2 separate regions of the Homo sapiens genome follow, and region 2 is linked to region 1. Evidence: promoter capture Hi-C in human tissues and cell types (Jung and others, 2019). All regions are on one chromosome and are shown on one strand. The core of a region is centred on a gene start or on the middle of the fragment in contact, and the rest is flanking DNA. Distances in the headings are between cores, read along the strand shown. Region 1 holds the start of ART4 (ADP-ribosyltransferase 4 (inactive) (Dombrock blood group)). Region 2 has its middle 11 kb from the start of RERG.

What was found. Contacts are between HindIII fragments. The study calls those that stand out against the background at their distance.
Region 2: a contact is called between a fragment that was not itself captured here and the fragment with the promoter of ART4 in region 1, in 1 of the 25 tissues and cell types used here (lymphoblastoid cells).

What each region holds. Positions count from the first base shown.
Region 1 is chr12:14,841,970-14,846,793 of GRCh38, forward strand. It overlaps ART4 (ADP-ribosyltransferase 4 (inactive) (Dombrock blood group)), which reads right to left and starts at 1,557. Exons shown (of 3, transcript NM_021071.4): 1 at 1,001-1,557. The coding sequence starts at 1,144. The HindIII fragment of the contact is 17,730 bases long and covers 1-4,824 here.
Region 2 is chr12:15,229,930-15,235,328 of GRCh38, forward strand. No RefSeq gene overlaps it. Among named protein-coding and RNA genes, the nearest start is that of RERG, 11 kb to the left of the region's middle. The HindIII fragment of the contact is 8,704 bases long and covers 1-5,399 here.

The DNA.
Region 1 (4,824 bases), core at 307-2,806:
CCTCAGGGACAGCAGAGTGAGTCAAGGGTTGGACAGTGGTCAGGAATGTGCCTAGGAAAGTCCCTCCCCTCCTGGAAAAGGACATTCCTTTCTAATGGGTAGCCAACAGAATGTTGTTTATTCACGTCTAGTGCATGCTAAACTGAAATGACAGATTTGAATAGAAGTCCACAAAATATCATCAGACTATCATTTAGAGCCATATATAAATTATATAAATTCTAAAACATTCCTTTCTTGGCAAAGAAATGATGTTTTCGTAATAAACAGTACTCATTGAGGGACATGTTAAAGGATCACATTCCATCCAGTCAATGTTAAGGATGTTGGAACTGGAACTTAAAGAACATCCCATTTGGTATTTTTACTATGTTATTTATGATGAGACGTCAGCTAGTTGTTTGTGAACTAGAACACATTTTTAAGACTGATTAAATGATTTTAACCAATAACTCTTCACATCAGGTATTAAAATAGGTCTACGGTATCTATTTAAGCCAAGCCGAGCCAAACCAAACCAATAATACAATGTTCTGTCAACTGTCATGATGAACTCTGAAACTTTGTTAATATGTTACTAGATCTCAAATATGTACTCTGTCATCTCTTAACATTAGGTTGTTTTTTGTTACACAGATCTTTATTAAAATATTCACTTAAAACTTAAGTCAATCTGTATGCTAGAGTTTAAAGCCAAATAGACTTGGTTTATTTTGCATTGTTTGTACTATGGAAGCAATATTTTACTTAATTTTTACAGTGGATCAGGAAAATAACTTTATGCCACTAGCATCCATAATGTCAAGTGTACTAACAGTGAAGGATTCTACAATTTTTCATAACTGTTTTCAACACTCTTTACTAACATGATTTGTTAAAATGTCTGAATGAAACTAGATTCTGAATGCCTAAGTTTTCGGCCATTTAAAGGCTGTGGCCGGGTGAATGCTCTGTTGGAGCACTGATCATAAAGAGATCACCCCCTCAATTGTCCCCCTACCTCAGAACCCTCTGTGGGTCTCTGCAGGCCAGAGAGGAGCAGCAGGAATGGCAGCAGGCCTCCAAGGAGCCAGATTCTCATCGTTGCAGGAGGTACAGTAGTTGGGAGAAGAATCTTCTTGCATCTGTTGATCAATGGACCCATTTGCTTGTGTCACAAGTACTTCTCCTTTGCCCTTGCAGCTTCATCCTGAGATGAATTCTCAGAGTTCTCCTTTGAGGTTTTCTTTCAGTCTCATCCGTAACCGTTTTTTCCCCTGTCTATGCTGAGCAACTTCTGTTGCCCACCAACAACCAATAGCTTGTCTGAGGGAAGAAATCAACTCCGACTTCTTTGCAAAACTGAAATCTCTGTGAAATAGCCAGATGCGCACACCAAATAAGGGTTTCTAAAGAGAACCCAAGTTACTTTTCAATTAAAAAAATAAAATCTCTGATCTAGTCTGTATTCAGGGGAATGCCGAAGTCCTGTTAAGTGTCAGACTCAGCAGTTCAGCCTTCCCTTTCCCAGCCAAACAGGAAAAAGCATGCTCTGTCCAGCGTTTGGGGCCAAGTAGCATTATCTGGAGCCCCAGGCTTCCATCAAAACTGATAAGATTGGCATGCGCAGGGCGGCTGGGAACGCGCCACCCTGGGTGTCTATAGGCTCATCTGGCCCTGCTGATAGGCCCTGCCCAGGACGGGCGTTCACAGAGCAAAGTGTGTTTTAGAGTTATTGTCAAAAAGAAGGCTCTTTGTACTGCTTTTCCCTGGCACCTTTGAAACTCTCCAATCCAGAGATTGTACCTCTGGGTTCAAAGCTCTTCCCCCATTTTCTCTTCTGAAGACAGGCCCTCTGTCCGCACAGTTCCAGTCTCCAGTGAATCCTAATGACGACTGTCAGGAGACTGCTTATGTAGAGCTGACATAAGTTAAAATAGGGTCCACTGTGCAAACTTAATCCAGCACAGTTCTATTAAGCACTCTCTTTTAGGTAGGTACTACCCTTTCTAGTCTAAACATCCTTCTTCTCCTCCCAACCCTTGATATAATTATATTTTCTTGCAAATATTTTGTATTTATACTTCTGGATTCATTATTTAAGAAACTAAAAGTTAGCAATCCTTGATAATTGTTTTTCTTGCAAATATTTACTTCTGGATTCAATTTTTAACTTTTAAGGTAAACTAAGTGCTGTTCTTAAGTATTCTAGAATTTTTTGGCACCCTGAATTTTTTTAATCTAAATTTTCTGATGATCACAGCAGTTCTGTCTCATTAACAAATATTCAGAATATTTAGAAAGCACAAAGGAGAAAAAAATGACACATAACCCGTCACTTGGAGACAGCCACTAATTAGGTCTGGATTTTGATTTATACACCCTTAGACATACACACACACAGGTTTCTAGAACTGAAATAATATAGTATGCAGTTTTGCATACTGTTTATTCCCCTTAATATTTTAATGTAAGCATGTCCCTATATAATTTAATACCTATTGAAACATTTTTTAAACAAAGGTTCACTATATTCCATTACATAGGTGCTGCCACACAATGGGACAGCATGGGTGGATCCATGGACAGTCTCAGAAGAAGATTGATAAGTGACTAGAACATGGACTCTTGAATAAGACATCTCAGTTCAATTCCTGGTGCTCCTTCTTCCTAAATGTGTGATCTTGGACAAGCTACTTAACCTCTCTGTCTCTCTGTTTCCTCATGTGTTGAATGGAGATAATAATAGTACCAACTTCATTTTAGTGTTGATACATTCATACTCCTTAGAATAGCATCTGGCACCTAGAAATTTTCCAACAAATAAAACCAATTATTATTATTTGCACCAAAGTTTATTTAATAAATATCTTATATTTAGCTTGTTTTCAACTACATAAATTTTTGTGTGTTTCTCACAATTTTTAAGATGCAGTTCTAGAGATGTGACTACTGATCCATGGAATGCATATTTTTCAGATTTAATGGCAACCACTAGCAGTGTGTGAAAATATCCCTTTAAGACTTTAACAATTCTTAAGGTTCCTTATTAGCAACTGTTACTTTGGAATATTGAGATGTCATGAAGAGAACTAGACTTAGAATATGAAAATTTGAATTATAGTTTGAGTTCTACCCACAATGCTGGCTGAGGTAACTTTAAAAAATAAGTAATTTGTGCTTAGCCTCAGTTTCCTTAACCTTATAGAAAGTTGTCAGGCTTAAATAAGGTGAAACTTTTCTTTTATTGAGCAAGTACTGTACTTCAAGACCTTTTTGCATGTTATCTCAACCCATGGGACGACCATGAAGAGATATTTTAACCTTTCCTTTATAAATGTGGTTGTTGAGGCCCTGTGAAGTTTAATAACTTTTTAGTAATCACAGGTGCTTTTCTGTCTCCTGAAGCCCACGATCTTAAAACACTCTAAAAGAGTGTGTCATTTTATTATTATCTTCTATAAAGGTTTTGCTATTTTTCCTATCGTGACTGCCACTTCCAGGATAAGACCACTGGAGGGCAGCAGAAAACTTTGTAACATTTTATACCACTCAGTCTAAAAGAGGGAGAACAGAAAAGGGAATGGGGCAGGGAGCAGGAAGGGGGATAGAAAGAGAGAGAGAGAGGGAGAAAGATAGAGGGAGAGAGGGAGAGAGAGTGAGGGGGAGAGCAAAAGAGAAGGGGAGCGAGAGAGTGGGGAGGGGAGGGGAGAGAGAGAAGGTAGGGAGAGAGAGAGAAGGTGGGGAGAGAGAGAGAAAGAGAGAGACAGAGAGAGAGAACCATCAGTGAAAACAACTGGGGTAGGGAAAAGCTCAAGTTCTGGTGTATATGTGAACATATTTGAATTAAAATGAAAAGTTAAGTTTTCTGATTGTTTGGAGTCAATAAAAAGTCATCTTTTGCCTTAAGGGCTATCTTATTAAGATTCTCATGTAATAATTTAATATTAGTTAATTTAGAGTTTGGGGTGCATTCAGTTATCATTTAATGATACCCAGTTCTTCAAAATGCAGCCTATTTGTGCTGTCTTGATGGGTTGGGATATAAGTTTTGAAGTAGCACAGACCTTGTGTTGGAATTTTACTTCCATCACTTCCTACCTTTGTGAGTTGGAACAAATTACACTAATTCTCAGTTGCATTTTCTTCATATGTAAAAGTAGACATGGTAACACCAGTCTTGCAGGGTTCTGTTGACAATGAAATGAAAGACCAACAACTCATAGGGTGTCCAACACAGTGAAAGTTAACTTTATTTTTTTTTTTAAGCAGCTGTTTAAGAAGAGGTTTCGCTAATTTTCCAGATCTATTTTCTGGAATAAATTCTAGATATTCTAGACTATTCTAAACCTTCTTTCAGAGAATGGGTTGCAGTACTCACTAGAGGGCCTTTCCCAGGGAGGAAACTTATCTTCTGTTACCGTCCTTGAGGTTTGGCAATGACCTTTAGTAGTTCCTGTTTGGATCTTGTTGAACTCCTTCAGATCTGTGTCTAAATTTAATAGGAGTGTTTTATTGCCAGAAGTACTTGTTAGTCACAGGAAAGTTGTTTGATAGTGACCCCATAATTTGGTAGGCAGAATGGGTTTGAGTTATCTACGTTTTAACTTATCAGTTCCTTCTTAACTCTTAACACTCTTACAGAAGTGAGCAAAGCTCCCTCAGTTATTTCACATTTTTATAACTTTTTATTTAGATAACATTTCATGCTTACACAAAAGGTGCAAGAGTAGAAGGAATTTCGATACACTCTCCAAATTAATCAGTTGTTAATATTTTACCCCAATTGCTCTATCATTCTCTCTTTTTTTAAACAACTTGAGAATAAATTGCAAATATCATGCT
Region 2 (5,399 bases), core at 1,381-3,880, 390 kb after region 1:
TTAGTACTGTGCAATAGAGAAAGAGAGAGAGAGACTATCTGCTAACAGTAAATGCACTTTAGTTATCCTAGTTATATAAGTATTGCAGCTATGTAAGTTGGAATCTTGAAGAAATTAATAAATTCAAATAGAATAATATATTCCACTGGAGGTTAATGCTGCTCAGATGATATCGGATGATCTTTACCTAATAAACTGTCAGGGAATTAGAAACACATTTGCAAAGTTCTGACAATTTGTGGGACCTGGAATAACATAATAAAAGCAAAATTTAGCTTACCACAGGGTCAATGTGAAAAGCCACATTTACTTATATAAGAAAGTCCACATGGTTTTGTACTTCCTAACTTTGCTTTTAATGATACATAAAAACAATTCCAAACTGGAACATTTTTTGAACCTCACAAATTCCAACTTATCATCTATGGTTACAAAAGGTTAAGAAGCCACATGAGCTAGGATAATTTTCCCTCTGTTCTGTCTCTTATATAGGGTTGAAAATAGAAACTCTTTTTACATGAAATCATCATTTAATGAATCTAGTTGATACAGAAATCCTAATGTTTAATAACAGCCACCAACTGATGCCAATAAGCAGCTAACTCAGGGAAAACTGTAGAAGGTGAAAAACATTACAGTTTTACTTATTTACTTATTTACATAGTAGCTGGCATGGAGATAGAGCTTGATTCATTTTCATTATTGTTGAATAAAATAAATACAATAAAATATGCATGATCTGTGGATGATTGAGCATGAAACAAATACATAGTAATTTCTGGTTTAATATTTCATCAGGCTAGCTATCCCCAGCTAAGTGTTTCCAAAATGCTGCCAATATACATCAAATAAGACATTGATAAAGATGAAAACACATGCCAAAATCTAAAGCCAACACTCAAACAAAACAAACCACTTTAACAGTTTAGGATATATTCTTCCTCCTTTGTCTGTGTACTCACTCACACACACACACACACACCCATAAACATGCATTTTTAAAAATTCTTACATATTGAATCATAATGTACAAATTGTTCTTTTTCTCATGCACTGTGCTTTAGAGATCTTTTCATTTCACTACATACAGATGTACCTCACTGATTTCAACAGTGTTGTCATGGTACTCAGGAACTATGTACCAAACACCATTTATGTAATTTTTTAACCATCTAAAAGTACATTTTTATATTAGAAATATTATTCATCATTTTAATGAGGTAAATCCGTATATACTGACATAAAATATCTCCAACACAAAACAAGGGGCAATACATAAAATCTGATGCCATTCCTGTAAAAAAAGAAGTCTACATAATTTCTATGTAGAGACACACATGACTTCATAGTAAATGTATGAAGGATAGAAAGCTAACAGATGAAAGTCCCTTTGGAGAAGTATCTGGGGTTGGTGTGGGTAGATAAGGGGGTGTTAGGCTTATCTGTAATGTTTTAATCTGTTTTATTTAGCTTATCTTGTAATGAAGATATATGTATTGTATTAGCTGGCAAAATAAAAATTATATCATATTTTAAGTAATAAAAAGTATATAAACTGGAAAATGAATACGTGTATTCTAGAGATGGTTGGAAAACCTTGTCAAGGGAAATTGGTCCATCAGCAGCAAGATCATCAATGCAGAAATGTAAAATGGTTGGATTTTACAGTTACATCTCTTAAATGAACACTGTCAAGATGATACCTCATGTGCTTTTCCCTGGTGGCTGTGAATATTATTTTAGCCAGCTTGTTCATGAAGGATGATGACAGAAAGGCATGGAAGTCAATTAAAAGATGCTGCCATTTATGTCAAACTCTGGGACTGAGTATGAGAGTCATGCTACTGTCAATCATGCTGGTCCTTTGCATATTAGTGTCCCTGCAAGGCTGGCTGCACAGGGGCTCACTTTTATGAAAGCTGGATTCCAGTGCAGTCACCTTTCAGTTGCCTTGTTATCAGTGCCTTTTTCTCCATTACGCATATCGTTTGCCCTTATGTCTTTCCCCTTACCTTTAGCTGGATGATAATATTGAAAGATAGAGTTACTGGAGCTTATTGAAACACAAAAACCAAAATTTACAATTTACTTTTTAAATATATCCATGGCTCAGAATTTCAGAGGTGAGCAAAATAAACAAACAAATATAAAGCTATATCTAGGTGTTTCCCAAAAACACTGGAAGAAAGCAATTTCCTTTCTATGTTAGTAGTTTAAAGATCTGTAATTAAAGTGAACTTTTAACTAAAACAAGAACTGAGGATTCTTCAATACTGATACAAAACAAGTGAATGTTACAGCTGAGAATGAAATAATAACCTAGGACTAATAGAAGAACGTCAGTAGAATCTGGATTGTGTATGAAAATAGATCTGGAAACCAGTAAGCAGAGAGATGGTTGCCTTAGCTGCTGCCTCTAGAGCTCTTACTAATCCTTCAACAGGATTGAATAGCAAAGGACAATGATATCAAAAGACTACTCTGCAACACATGCAAATGTACATAATTATTCCTGAGTCCACAACATAATGCAGCCATTCTTAGATTCTATATTTTTGTTTTTAACATAATGTCTTAAGTTAATGAAACTCCTCAGAAGATGTAGCCTTGAAAGACCCCATCTAGCCATTTTGTTAAGATTCTGCAAATCAAGTAAGCAGACCTCTTATCAAAATTATATTTTAAAATTTTAAGAACATTTAAAATGTATGTGTTGTGCATCACATAAACTGATGAATGCACAGCAGAAGAGCACAAATTCGAGTCTTTCAAGTGTGTTGATCCTGGCTGATGGAGGAAAAGAAGAATGCATGCCTGAAAAGAAGTTCTCACATGTATCTACTCTTACAGCACACTACAAAGAGTTATAGAAATATTTGCCTAATATTAGCTGCTCTGCCACCCCACCCAGAGAACATTGGGAGGGACTGGGTTACACAGGCTCAACAGGACAAGCCAAGTTGAAAACATGCAGATATGAAAGCCCAGGGAGCTGTCAAATGGCAGAAAGGCAGAAAGGAAGAGAGGCAGGTTTATCAACGTCAAAATCTTAGACCAGGAGACAAGTAGAAGCAAAAACTGGTAGGAGCTAAATGAATAATCTATTTGACAATTATCTGCACTTTCTGTGTAGCATACCCATATGATACATCTCCATTTTCCCTTCTTTCTTCACTTTATACCTCCATCAAATAAACCTGTCTGATGTCTTATTCTCTTAGATTCTGGCTGGGTGACAGAAGCAGTCTGATACATTAATTCCTGCCAGATGTTAACTGGGGCAATAACATCATGGATAAGATCAGGAACAGCATAGGTTGGAATCCAGACTCTGCCTCTATTAAATTGTGTGTCTGTGATATAGGTTCTTTTTTTTAAGGTGAAGTGAGTTTGTTGATGTGTACCCTAATCTAATATGACTGCAGGTCTTATAAGGAGGGGTGGTTAGGACACAAAAAAGCTCAAAAGTAGACCCTCTGAATACAGAGACAGAAGACAGCCATCTCCAAGCTAAGAAGAGAGGGCTCAGAGAAACCACCCCAGACTGACAGCTTGTTGTTGGACTTCTATCCTACAAAATTGTGAGAAACTAAACTTCTGTGGTTAAGCTCTTCAGTCTGTGTGCCATATTATGGCAGCCCTAGGAAACTATCCCAGCCTATTAGGACACACATAGGATGCTCCCTGCAGAATGGCTACATGGAAATGGAATCTTATTATGACAGGATCCAACAGCATTGAGAGGCTGACCCGCTATGGGAAATGGCTTCCCTTAAGGAATAGTATGATGCCATGTGAGGGCACTTCCTGATGGGGCTCCTCCCTGATGGGGCTAGAGGGATGAATTCTGTGGGATGACCCTTTACAGACAAATGCATGGAGTAGCTTCACCTCCTTTTTTGTGTAACCCCCCTACTTTTGTGTAAAAACCTCCCCAGTAAATGTTGGATTGTGAGTCTTGGAGGACGTCTAGCAGGGCCATGGAGCTGTGTGCTATATGAGATATCTAGGGTGGGGAGTTAAAACAAAACTGTGGCAACAAGCAGAGATACTCATGGTGTTTTCTCTGATCTTCCTACAAGGTGGTGAAAGGGATTTTGCATGTAATCAAGTTGCCACTGGGGAATAATGTCAGGCAGATTCCTCTGGGAGGAGACAGTGGGTTACTCAATTGGGAAAGCCCTAGGAGAGAGCCCAGGGAATTTCCATATTCATTTATATGTCCTGGGTCCACCCTGGTCTTCTCTGGTGGCTGTCTGTGGGGACCACTCGGTGCCTACTCTCACCCTAGAGCACCACTGGTCATGGTTGGTGACATGGTACACCTGCCCTTCTTTGAAGGAGATGGAGAAGGTGAATCCATCCAACAACTCCTGCTTAATATGCTGCATGGAACTCTGAAAAGAGAGTGTCCAAAAGCCAGGCCAAGAGGCATCAATGGCCAGCCTTGCTGTTTCCCCAGGCAGTCACCCAGATTAGAACTTTCCTTCCAAGATCAGGCACATAGGAGCATCTGCAGAGCATCTCCAGTCAGAGAGGAAACTAGATGAGAGATTGGTCTCAGGATGAACATGTGAAAAGAAAAGCTTTGTCCCCAACACTCCCTTTCCCATCCTGCCAGCCATGACCAGAGTATGAATCTGACAGACCCACCTCGCTCCCAACCCCTGACAACCTGCCCCTGTCCAGGGAGGGCCCCTCATCTCTTGCTTCCCTAAAACACATGGTGATGGGGAAGGATATGGGACAGCCCTGATTGGATCACAGCTGAGGCCTGGACTGGAAGGGCCTGCCACTGGGCTGCCCTGTGTTACCTGTGGGTGCCTTCTGCCAAATGGCCAGAGGCGTCGATGGTGAGGGTTCAGCCAATGTCCGCAGTCTCTGGAAAGATTCTCACTTTGGCCTTTGTTGAGACAAGGACATAGACAAACTGAGATACAGCAGGAGAACATCTTGCTGTCTTGAGCATCCCCACCAATGGCTGGATATGGGGCTATCCCTAGAATGTGGGTGCCTAGTTACCAGAATTCTAAGTTCTGTTGAGGTCTGTCCCCAAGGAAGTTAGGTCACTTCTTCAAGGCTCCATCAACTAGGCTCCTTCCTTTCATAAGACCTACTCAAAGGCCCCAATGGGATTCTGACCACTCACCCTCCCGCTATCAACTTCTTATTTTTTCCAAAAGTTATTAAGGTACAGGTGGTATTTGGTTACATGAGTAAGTTCTTTAGTTGTGATTTGTGAGATTTTGGTGCATCTATCACCTGAGAAATATACACTGCACCCTATTTGTAGTCTTTTATCCCTTGTCCCCCTCCCACCCTTCCCTCCAAGTCCCCAAAATCCATTGTATCATTTGAGTCCTAACAGCTTAGCTTCCACATATCAGTGAGGACATACT